Regions from separate parts of the Homo sapiens genome. Here regions 2, 3 and 4 are each linked to region 1. Evidence: promoter capture Hi-C in 16 types of primary human blood cells and fetal thymus (Javierre and others, 2016). All regions are on one chromosome and are shown on one strand. The core of a region is centred on a gene start or on the middle of the fragment in contact, and the rest is flanking DNA. Distances in the headings are between cores, read along the strand shown.

Region 1 (2,865 bases), core at 208-2,707:
TTCACCGTTTTGATGATTTAAGGTTTTATGAAGATTCTGAGCTCTTCCCTCCCGACGTTAATCCATGTCTTACATTGTTCATTTTGGCGCTTTAGAATAAAATATCTTTGGAAAGTAACTATGAGAAAGCACAGAGGGATATGTTAGTGAAATAGCCATTTTCTTGTGGGAAGCAAGACATTTCGGTTATCGACTACACAGAAGAGTGAATAAAACCCAACGCCTATCAACCACCAAACGTGACTCTGCTTGCATAATCATACAAATAAATTTTCTTTAAAAATTTTTCATGGGTGCAGTATATAAAATGATCAATAGTCTCATCAGCAGTGGAACTACAAACTGCTTTCTCCTAACTTTGTGTAGCCTGGGTGCTGCCTCACGATTACTAAGTGGTTTAAAATCATATCCCACTTGCTCCTTGGTTTATCAGCGAAAGACGTGATTCCCAGGTAGGAAAACGCCAAGTGTCCCGCAAAGGTACAGGTAAAACGTAGCAGTTACTGCGAGAAGACTGGCCCCGGGGAGTCCCAGGGCTCGGTCGGGGCCCCCGCACGAGCTGAGGAAGTGGACAGCGGGCACCTTTGTCTGTGCCTAGTTCCCTGGACCCGGGCCGAGCGATGCGGGTGGGGGCGCGGTTCGGGCGGGTCCCGGCGCTGCCCGGGGGAAGCGCGCGGCGACGGCGGCCCGGCTTGGGAGCCGGAGGTCAGCGGCTGCGCGGCCGGCCCCCTCCCACGGGAGCCGCGCCAGGGCCCAGCAAGAGTCGGGCGGGATCGCTATTGTTTTTGGCGAGCACATAAATCCCCGGGCCGACCCACTGCGCACCCAGGTTTCCTCCCGGAGGCCTTTCGGTTTCCTCTGAGGCCCTATATAGAGGCTCCAGGCCCGGACTGTGCAGAGGTGCGCGCCCACGCCGGCCTCCCGGACCAGCCTGAGCTCGGAGCGCCTCTCGCCCTCAGGTCTCTGCAGCCAGAGGCATCTGGGGAGGTGAGGGGGGAATTTGTCCCCGAGGCGAGGAGGAGGAGGCGGGGGCGCGCGGAGCCGAGGGGCTGCGGCGAGCGGGCGGGAGGAGCAGGAGGATCCGCTTCTCCGGGGTTTCCCTGACGCCAGCAGCAGCGCCCGGCGCGCGCGCCCCGCACCCGTCAGCGGCTCCGGGGAGAAGGGGGAGGGGAGCGGGCCCGCCACGGCCCGAGAGGCGGCAGCCGGGATTGGAGCGGGGGCGGGCCGCGCGCGGAGCCGAGGGGGTGCGGGCGAGGCGCGCGCGTGCGCGTGTGCGCGCCCGGGACTCCCGCCCCCCGCCCCCGCCCCCGCCCCCGCCGTCCGCGGTCTCCGCCCCCCTCGCGCTGGTGTGTGGAGCCGGAGTCGGCGGCGGGTGGCGGCGCCTGGAACCTGGAGACCGACCCACCGCCCCCCCCCCCCCGCCCCGGAATGTACTGACTCCCCTTCTTCGCTCTCCTCCCCTCCCCGCCCCCTTGCAGGAGGGAGGCGCCCTGGAGTCTCCCCTCCAGCGAGAGGGGCTGCGCGGGCCGGGCCGGGCCGGGCTGGGCTGGAGCAGCGGCGGCCGCGGGAGCCGAGCTTGCAGCGAGGGACCGGCTGAGGCGCGCGGGAGGGAAGGAGGCAAGGGCTCCGCGGCGCTGTCGCCGCCGCTGCCGCTCACTCTCGGGGAAGAGATGGCGGCGGAGCGGGGAGCCCGGCGACTCCTCAGCACCCCCTCCTTCTGGCTCTACTGCCTGCTGCTGCTCGGGCGCCGGGCGCCGGGCGCCGCGGCCGCCAGGAGCGGCTCCGCGCCGCAGTCCCCAGGTAAGCGGCGGGCGCGGGCCCGGGGGTTCGCGGGGGCGCGGCACCGGCTCAGGCGGCCGCGGCTGCGGTGTTTTTGTTTAGGATCCAGGAGGAAACGTGCAGGAACTTCTCTGCCTCGGCTCCGGTTGCCGAAGAGAAAGGGGATCGCGCGTGGTGGGGAGGAGAAGGGCGAGAGGGGGCGCCACCGGGGAAGGGGCGGCTGCCGGGGGGCAGGTCGGGGGCGCAGGGGTCTAGTTCCCAGCTTTGTACCTGGAGGCAGGTTCACCCCTCGCCTCTCTCCCCTCCCCCAGGCTCATCCCACTTGTAAGAGTGGGACATTCTTGTGCTCACACTAGCACCAGTAGAGGCCACTACACACCTCATTAAATAAACAATCAGACGGCCAATTCATTAATTTTCAGGAAAGGAAAGGGGAGGGGGCTTGAGCTCCTGGTTCCCTGGCCAGGGATTTCCCAGCTTCCGAAGTCTCGAGGAAGAGCTGGCTAGTCTCGAGGGACTCCTCGCGCGGGGATTGGAGCCCGAGTCTGCGGAAGAGCGGGGGTGTCAGAGGGGCACAATTGCCCGCTCACAACCCCTGGTGTTGATTTAACGATGAGGACGCCTTGGAGAGCGGCTCGGAGTGATCGTATCTGTTAGTGTTTCCGTTATGAAATGCCTCTTCTTTCCTGGGGATTACAACTATATTTACAGCCTATTAACCACTCTTAACCAAGGGAATTGTCTAAGCATCAGATTTTAGGTACTTGTACAATGTTTTCAGATGGCATTGTATAAACATTGAACCTCAAAAGCCATTTTCAGTTCTTTTTTGGAATATTATAGATTACTGAAACCACCTGCATTCCTATTAAGGGGACCAACGAACAAAAATGCCAAGCCTTCCGGGAAGGACCTTACGGTATTGTTGAGCAGGATACACTCAGCAGTTGAAAGGCAAATTAGCATGTAATCTGTTAAAATTATTTGACCAAGGTGGTGTACCATAAAACTTGACAAAACTTTCACTCGTGTGAGATATGATATTTTTACATTTGAAAGCAGTCTTACCGCTGAACCAGTACTTGT
Region 2 (2,925 bases), core at 241-2,740, 350 kb before region 1:
CCAGCGAATATTGGTTGAATGAATGAGTCTTGGTTTTACAGATGAGGAAACTATAAATTTCCCAGGTCACACATTTGGTAATAGGACAGTTGTGTACACTGAAATGTTCTCTAAAATATTTGATGGAACGAAAATTAGCTTTTGGACAGCTACATCTCCAAGAGTGTGAAATGACCTTCAGCACTGGATTTGGTGGATTTTCCTTTTTCTAATCCCTAGAGTTCCATTTAATGAGCGTTTGGGTTCTTGAGCTACCTTACAAATTGAACACTTTTTTCTCCAGCTTTCACTCAAGAAACACAAAACATGGCTTGTCCTTTTTTTTTTTTTTTTTTTTTTTGAGACTGGGTCTCACTCTGTCACCCAGGTTGGAGTGCAGTGCACAATCATGGTTCATTGCAACCTCTGCCTCCCAGGCTCAAGCAATCCTCCTAACTCAGCCTCCTGAGTAGCTGGGACTACAGGCTTGTGCCTCCACTCCTGGCTAATTTTTTTGTATTTTTTGTAGAGATGGGGTTTGTCCAGGCTGGCCTTGAAGTGCTGGACTCAAGTGATCCGTCCACCTGGGCCTCCCAAAGTGCTGGGGTTACAGGCGTAAACCACTATAGCTAGCCCTGATTGTCTTTTATTGTGAGATTTTAATAACAGCTAAGACTTGAAAATTAACATTTTATAAATTTTCTTTTAGACTACTTAGTGATATACTAAGTATCTAAGGTTTGTAATACTTAGTATAAACTCAAAAGGGTTCAGTGCCTCATTCTCTTTTACTCTTTCCCTTTAGTAGATAGGTGACAGAGGACTGGGTCATGCAGTTGAGACTTGGTCCAAGATGACTTAGTAAGCTACTTGTCCCAGAACTATTTATTTATTTACTTATTTTTGAGATGGAGTCTCGCTCTGTCGCCCAGGCTGGAGTGCAGTGGTGTGATCTTGGCTCACTGCAACCCCCGTCTCCTGGGTTCAAGCGATTCTTTTGCCTCAGCCTCCCGAGTAGCTGGGATTATAGGTGCCCGCCACCACTCCCGGCTAATTTTTTGTATTTTTAGTAGAGACTTGGTTTCATTGTGTTAGCCAGGATTGTTTCGATCTCCTGACCTCATGATCCACCTGCGTGGACCTCCCAAAATGCTAGGATTACAGGCGTGAGTCACCACCCCCGGACCCTGGAACTATTTATGACGGTGCACTTTATGCACTTAACACACTCACATGTCTTTAAGCTTGGTGACTCGTGTGGCTTTTTCGAAGGAGATTTGATTCTGGAAGTGGTTAAGTAGGATGTGAATGGCTAAGGTCTGGTCATTGGTGAAGCCTAGGGGAAGAAAAGAAAGGAAACACAAGTCTTAGAAGAATTTCAGATCGGCCCCAACGACTAGAAGGGTGGTTCTACTAAGAAAATGTGTGTAGTCAGAAAATGAAGAGTCAGTTGCTTAAAATTTTACTTTTTTTCTTGTTCCTGGCATGTAAAGTCATATCCATACTTTCTGTTATAATTTCTTCTTACAAATTCCATTGATAATCCCTATTCTTGGATAGCAATGAGCAGCATTACTTCTTTTTTATTTTTTTAAAAAAATTAAATTTTTTGTTGAAATGAGGGTCCTGCTGTATTGCCCAGGCTGGTATCAAATTTCTGGGCTCAACTGATCCTCCTGCCTCAGCCTCCCAAAGCGCTGGGATTACAGTTGTGAGCCAGTGTGTCTGGTTGTACCTTTTAATTTTTGTGTTCAGGCAACATTAACTCTGAGTCACAGTAAGCTTTTTTTTTCTTCCTGTCATATTATGGACATAGAAGTTTTTTGGTTTTCTTTAGATTGTTTCTCCTTAGGTTGCAGAACATCAAGAAATGGATTACAGTCATTTTCCTCTCTTCCCCATGCTCTTCCCTTTCTTTTCCTTTTTTCTTTTCTTTTTTTTTTTTTGGAGACAGAATCTTGCTCTTTGGCCGAGGCTGGAGTACAGTGTCATGATCTTGGCTCACTGTAACCTCCCCGCACCAGGTTCAAGTGATTCTGGTGCCCAAGCCTCCCTAGTAGCTGGGATGTCAGGATGCGCCACCACACCCTGCTAATTTTTGTATTTTTTTGTAGAGATGGGGTTTCACCATGTTGTCCAGGCTGACCTCAAACTCCTGGACTCAAATGATCTGCCCTCCTCGGTCTCCCAAAGTGCTGGGATTATAGGCATGAGCCACCACATCTGGCCTCTTTTCCATTTTTAAAAAGGACTGTCTCCAACATATTAAAATTCACAAAAAATAATATAAACACACATGTACTCACTGGCTAGGCTTAATAAAAAACATTTAGTCATGTTTACTTTAAAGCTTTTTATTTTTTTGAGAAATAGGCATTAAAGAGTTGAAGTCTCCTTTCTGTCTTTTCATAATTCTGTTCTTCCCTCTTCCTTCCTTGAGATCTTCACTATTCTTGGGTTAATTTGGATCTTTCTACTCCTTGTTACCACAGAAAAGTAATTCTTAATGAATTTGACCATATTTTAAACTTCTGATTTCAGTGGGCAGGTAACTCATTTTATGGTTTCTGTATTGTGAGCCATTTTCAATGACTCAACTAGATTTTTTTCATCGTTGACTTCTCATTTCTGGGCAACAGCATAATGTTCTCATTTGAGCTATTTCTAAAGATTGTGTTTAACTATTTAAAATATTTGTGGTACTCTGATCATCAGATGTGATTTTTTTTTTTTTTTGAGACGGAGTCTCACTCTTTCACCAGGCTGGAGTGCAGTGGCGCGATCTCGGCTCACTGTAACCTCCTTCTCCCAGGTTCAAGTGATGCTCCTGCCTCAGCCTCCCAAGTAGCTGGGACTATTGGTGCGGGTTACCACACCCGGCTAATTTTTTGTATTTTTAGTAGAGACAGGGTTTCACCATGTTTGCTAGGATGGTCTCGATCTTCT
Region 3 (2,877 bases), core at 114-2,613, 300 kb before region 1:
TGTTATATTAATATATTTGTCCAGGCCAGGTGTGGTGGCTCATGCCTGTAATCCCAGCACTTTGGGAGGCTGAGGTGGGCAGATCACCTGAGGTCAGGAGTTTCAGACCAGCCGGGCCAACCTGGCAAAACCCCGTCTCTACTAAAAATACAAAAATTAGCCGGGCATGGTGGCGCACACCTGTAATTCCAGTTACTCAGGAGGCTGAGGCAGGAGAATGGCTTGAACCCAGGAGGTGGAAGTTGCAGTGAGTCAAGATTGTGCCACTGTGCTCCAGCCTGGGTGACAGAGTGAGACTCTGTCCAAAGCCACAGAATGTACAAGACTGAAGCCAAAAGTAAATTATGGACTTTGGGTGATAAAGATGTGTCCGTATATATACATCAGTTGTAACAAATGTGGGAGATGTTTGCTTTACATGTTCTTGTGGGAGATGTTGATAGGGAGGGAAGAGGCTATGCATGTGTTGGGGCAGCTGGTATATGGCAAGTGTCTGTATTTCCTCAATTTCCTATGAACCTAAAACTTCAATACCCTTCTCAGCCCCTGAGAAAGTAAAAACAAAACAAAATCATAAAAATTCTCAGCAAATAAAGAATAGATGGGAACATCTTCAACCTGATGAAGGGCATCCATGAGAAAAAAAATGCAATGGATATCATATTTAGTGAAATATTGACTACTTTGCCCCTAAGATCAGGACCAAGGCAAAGATGTTTGCTCTTACCACTTCTATTCAGCCTTATACTGGACTAGAGTTCTGGCCAGTGCAATAAGGCAAGAAATAAAAAGGCATAAAGACTAGAAAGGAAGAAATAAAACTCTTTACAGATGACATGATTATGTGGAAGATCCTAAGGAATCCTAAAAATAAATTATTAAAATAAAAGTGACTACACCCAAGTGGATTTGGCAGGGTCACAAGATACAGTCAATGTACAAAAATCAATTGTATTTTTATATACAAGGAACAATTTTGAAAATAAAAAAAATCACAAAAGTGTCAAATACTATTGATACGAAATACTTAGGAATTTAACAGACTACACGTTAAGACCTCTACTCTGAAAACGGCAAAAGCACTGGTGTGAAACAGAAGGCCATTATAGAAATATATATCATGTTCATGCATTGTACGACTAAATACTGTTAAGATAAAAATTCTTCCGAAATTCATCTATAGATCCTATCATAATCCCAGCAGGTTTTGGGGTAGAAATTGACTTGACAAGCTGGCTCTAAAATGTTATGGAAACACAAAGGACCAAGAACATGTAAAGCAATCATGGAAAAAAACCAAAATTGGAAGACTTACACTGCCTTACTTCAAGACTTACTATAATAGTGCTCATGTAGCACTGGCATAAAGATAGACAAATAGAGCAATAAAACAGAAGTGAGTGCATACATAGACCTTACAGTTATACAGTCATTTGATTTTTGATAAAGGTACCAAAGCAATGCAATGGGAAAAGTCTTTTCAACCAATGTTACTGGAACGACTGGATAGCTGTATGGAAAAGCAATCTAGGGGCAGGGGTTGGGGAGATGTACAACACGGTGACTCTACTTAATGTATTATTGAAAATTTCCTAGTATATAAAAATACAATACAAAAGAATTTAAAGAAGAAAAAGTTATTGAAAATTGCCAACAGAAGATTTCAAGTGTTCTCACCACAAAAAACTGAGACAATGCATAATTAGCTCAATATAGCTATATACCTACAGCTAATGTAAAGGTAATATATACATATTTCAAAACATGCTGTACATGATAAAAACTTACACATTTTATATACAAAGTGAGACTATATTTGTGACATGGGCATGGTCCAATATTTCTTTGGGCATAGAGAACATTAAGACATTAAGAAAAAGGATATCAAACCACAGACTTGGAGAAAGTACAAAACATATCTGACAAAGGACTTGTATCCAAACATTTTGGATGCAACTCTTATTACTCAAAAAAACCTAACAACCCAAACAACATACACAAAGCAAACAACTCAACTGGGGGAGAAAAAGGCAAAAGATTTGGACACTTCACAAAGAAAGATATATGAATAGTCAATAAAGCACATGAAAAAGTGCTCATATGTCATTAGGGAAATACAAATTGAATCCATGCTGAAATACCACTGTATACCTGTCAAAATGGGTAAAATTAAACATTGACAACTCCAGATGGTTGTGGGGAAGAAAAGCAACCACAACTGTCATATGCTGTTTTAGGGAGTGTAAATGGTCCAACCATTTTAGAAAAAAGGCCTTTCACCCAGCAATTTCCCTCCTATAGGCCTTTACCCAAGAGAAATGACAGTACGTCTACACAAACACTTGTTGACAGCAGCTTTATTCATAATAATTCCAAAGTGGAATGCTCTGTACTCACAGTGGAGTACTATCTAGCTATAAAAAGCAACCAACTACATGCAACATGGATTACTCTAAAAAATACTATGCTAAATGGAAGAAGCTCTATACAAAGGACTAAATACTGAATGGCTCCATTTTTAAGTTGCATTCTGAAAACAGGCAAAACTGATTTCTGGTGGAAAATAACTGGTTGTTCTGGGGCTTGAGGTATGCGGTGGGGATGACTTGGAAGTGGCATGAAGGAACTATCTAGGGTGATGGAGACTTTTCATTTTTGCTGCTCCTTGCAGATCAAGACTAACTCAGACAATGTGCTTGGGGCTGTCCATTCTGAATCTTTTTTTTTTTTTTTTTTTTTTGAGACAGAGTTGGCTGTGCTGCCCAGGCAGAAGTGCATGATCTTGGCTCACTCCAACCTCTGCCCCATGGGCTCAAGCAGTTCTCTTGTCTCAGCCTCCCCAGTAGCTGGGATTACAGGCACCCACCACCACACCCA
Region 4 (2,700 bases), core at 19-2,518, 320 kb before region 1:
TAAATCTGCGGCCCGGCGCGGTGGCTCACGCCTGTAATCCCAGCACTTTGGGAGGCTGAGGTGGGCAGATCACGAGGTCAGGAGATCGAGACCATCCTGGCTAACACAGTGAAACCCCGTCTCTACTAAAAATACAAAAAAATTAGCCGGGCGTGGTGGCGGGCGCCTGTAGTCCCAGCTCCTCGGGAGGCTGAGGCAGGAGAATGGCGTGAACCCGGGAGGCAGAGCTTGCAGTGAGCTGAGATCACGCGCCACTGCACTCCAGCCTGGGTGACAGAGCGAGACTCTGTCTCAAAAAAAAAAAAAATAAAAAATAAAAAAAATAAATCTGCTGGGCATGGTGGCTTATGCCTGTAATCCCAGCACTTTGGAATGCTGAGGCAGGAGGATCACTTGAGGCCAGGAGTTCAAGACCAGGCTGGGCCACATAGTGAGACCCCCATTTCTACAAAAAAAATTATCCAGGCATGGTGGCACACACCTGTAGTCCTAGCCACTCGGAAGGTGGAAGAGGGAAGATCACTTGAGCCCAGGAGTTTGAGTCTACAGTGGGCTATGATGGCACCACTATACTCCAGCCTGGGTGACAGAGACCCTGTCTCTAAAAAGAAACAATAATTATGTTGAAATGACTTCTAGAGTCCTAATGATTTGATACTACAACTTTTTTTCTAGATGTGACTTTGGGAATGAGAAGGAATAGCATCAAATGGATGAACATCATTGAGGAGATGCAGCAAGACAAGCTGTTTATTAAAGGATACAAACTGAATTCTGATTTAGGAAGTAACATTAGACTGTCAGCTCCCACCTTGATACCTTTCCTTAGAGAAATGAAAGGGCTGGGCTGATGAAGCCTAAAGCTGACTCGCCCTCTGTTCTACGGTAGAAAGAAATTTACCTTAAGTAGCCACGTACAGGTGTATTTCAGGTATCTAGAACACTTGGTATACCAAATAGGGGCTGCAGAGAACAGATTAAAGGAAGTTTTTACTTAAAGGGCTCTGGTATTCATTCTGAAATACTGACTTTCCTGGCTAGAAGTAGGAAACAGATGGGTAAAGCAAGTAACATTTTATCTTTTTTTTTTTTTTTTTTTTTTTTTTTTTTTGTGCTGTGCCAGAGAGCCACAGTGTAGAGTGCAAGGACATTCCTCAGGAACATTTGTCCCAATAGGTTGGATATATTTATGTCCCTGGAAGAAATTTTCCAGTCCCATCTATGCTGATGGGCCTGCTGAGTATAGACTCAGGAAAGCTGCCCCACTGCTACAGCCTTTTGGGAATGACTGAATGACTTTCTCTGTGCCATGTTTTCAGGCCATCTTGGCAGCAGGCAGCATGATGCAGACCCACGGGGACTTTGATGTTGCCCTCACCAAATACAGAGTTGTGGCTTGTGCTGTTCCAGAAAGTCCTCCACTCTGGAATAACATTGGAATGTGTTTCTTTGGCAAGAAGAAATATGTGGCGGTGAGTGTCCCCTCATGTTCTTTGTTTGTATTTCTACATGTGGTTATTGGGTCTGTTTAGCTTGCCCTTCTCATTGAGTGCCCCTTCTCTCTCATAGGCCATCAGCTGCCTGAAACGAGCCAACTACTTGGCACCCTTTGATTGGAAGATTCTGTATAATTTGGGCCTTGTCCATTTGACCATGCAGCAGTATGCATCAGCTTTTCATTTTCTCAGTGCGGCCATCAACTTCCAGCCAAAGATGGGGGAGCTCTACATGCTCTTGGCAGGTAAGAAACATTTATGTGGAAAACTCTCTCTGCCATCTGTAATGAGGGAAAAATGGATTAGAATCATAGAAGATCAGTGGCTGTCTCATAGGAGCCATTCCCTTAGAGATCCTGTAGGAATCTGGATTACTGTCCTGGAGCTTGAAGAAATAGAAAAAGATGACAAAGGAACTTGGTTGTTTCTAACTTGGGGGAGTTTGACTCAGAGACCAACAGGTTAAATAAAGATCATCCCTAGTTCACCTTTTACCAGTTTTTTCCTCTTGCCTTGACAATTCATTTATGTATATATTGAGTCCAACTAAGTTCCAGACAGCAAGTGTTAAGAGCTTGGGTTTTAGGTAGGGTCCTGCCTCTACTACTTATTATATGTACCTAGGGCTGATGTGAGGATTGCATGATTAAGCTCTCAATTAATAATACTGGTTTTGTTGAAATACTGATTTTTGAAAACTGTTGGTTTTACTGTGGTTATATAATTGGTCTATTATTATCAATATTGTTGTTACTATAATTGGCCCCTAGGTGATACTTCCAAGTCAAGCTACCTTATGTTGAAACCCTTATCTCTTCTGAGCATGTTATATAGAATGCCATTCTCTTCCTGAAACTCCATTTTATGCCATGCAAATACTAAAATTGATCATAAAAATAAGTTAAAATTAATCAAACACTTTAACAATTATGCACAACCATTTTAAAGTACTGACTAGTCTTTCTAGGAATTTTTTTCTCCATATACATTTACTTACTAAATGTAAGACCCAAAGCAGATTTCCATGTCCTCATTTGGCAGTCGTCTTCCAGTGGCTTTTTGTTCATTACTGTGGGTTCTTATTTAAAAGAGAAAGCTTGCAAAAGCAATTGTGGTTATTTGAGGGTTGCCTGAATACAAAGATAACTTTAAAAAAAAAACATAGGTTTTATTATTATTCAGATATGGTATGGGCAACAGATCA

Evidence for each region. The method cuts DNA at HindIII sites, captures the fragments that hold promoters and counts their contacts. A CHiCAGO score of 5 or more calls a contact.
Region 2: a contact is called between a fragment that was not itself captured here and the fragment with the promoter of NEO1 in region 1, in 1 of 17 cell types (endothelial precursors). The highest score is 5.5, in endothelial precursors.
Region 3: a contact is called between a fragment that was not itself captured here and the fragment with the promoter of NEO1 in region 1, in 3 of 17 cell types (naive CD4 T cells, activated CD4 T cells and total CD4 T cells). The highest score is 7.4, in naive CD4 T cells.
Region 4: a fragment that was not itself captured here is called in contact with the fragment with the promoter of NEO1 in region 1 in 3 of 17 cell types (total CD4 T cells, non-activated CD4 T cells and naive CD4 T cells); the score reaches 5.6 in total CD4 T cells.

Annotation. Positions count from the first base shown.
Region 1 is chr15:73,051,006-73,053,870 of GRCh38, forward strand. It overlaps NEO1 (neogenin 1), which reads left to right and starts at 1,458. Exons shown (of 29, transcript NM_002499.4): 1 at 1,458-1,800. The coding sequence starts at 1,671. RefSeq lists silencers at 578-627, 688-757, 848-1,167, 1,398-1,777. The HindIII fragment of the contact is 4,913 bases long and covers 1-2,865 here.
Region 2 is chr15:72,705,271-72,708,195 of GRCh38, forward strand. The region is part of intron 2 of BBS4 (Bardet-Biedl syndrome 4); the gene reads left to right. Among named protein-coding and RNA genes, the nearest start is that of BBS4, 21 kb to the left of the region's middle. RefSeq lists a silencer at 1,114-1,314. The HindIII fragment of the contact is 538 bases long and covers 1,222-1,759 here.
Region 3 is chr15:72,746,198-72,749,074 of GRCh38, forward strand. No RefSeq gene overlaps it. Among named protein-coding and RNA genes, the nearest start is that of ADPGK-AS1, 35 kb to the right of the region's middle. The HindIII fragment of the contact is 6,810 bases long and covers 1-2,877 here.
Region 4 is chr15:72,729,986-72,732,685 of GRCh38, forward strand. It overlaps BBS4 (Bardet-Biedl syndrome 4), which reads left to right. Exons shown (of 16, transcript NM_033028.5): 11 at 1,320-1,472; 12 at 1,570-1,741. Among named protein-coding and RNA genes, the nearest start is that of BBS4, 45 kb to the left of the region's middle. The HindIII fragment of the contact is 2,643 bases long and covers 1-2,590 here.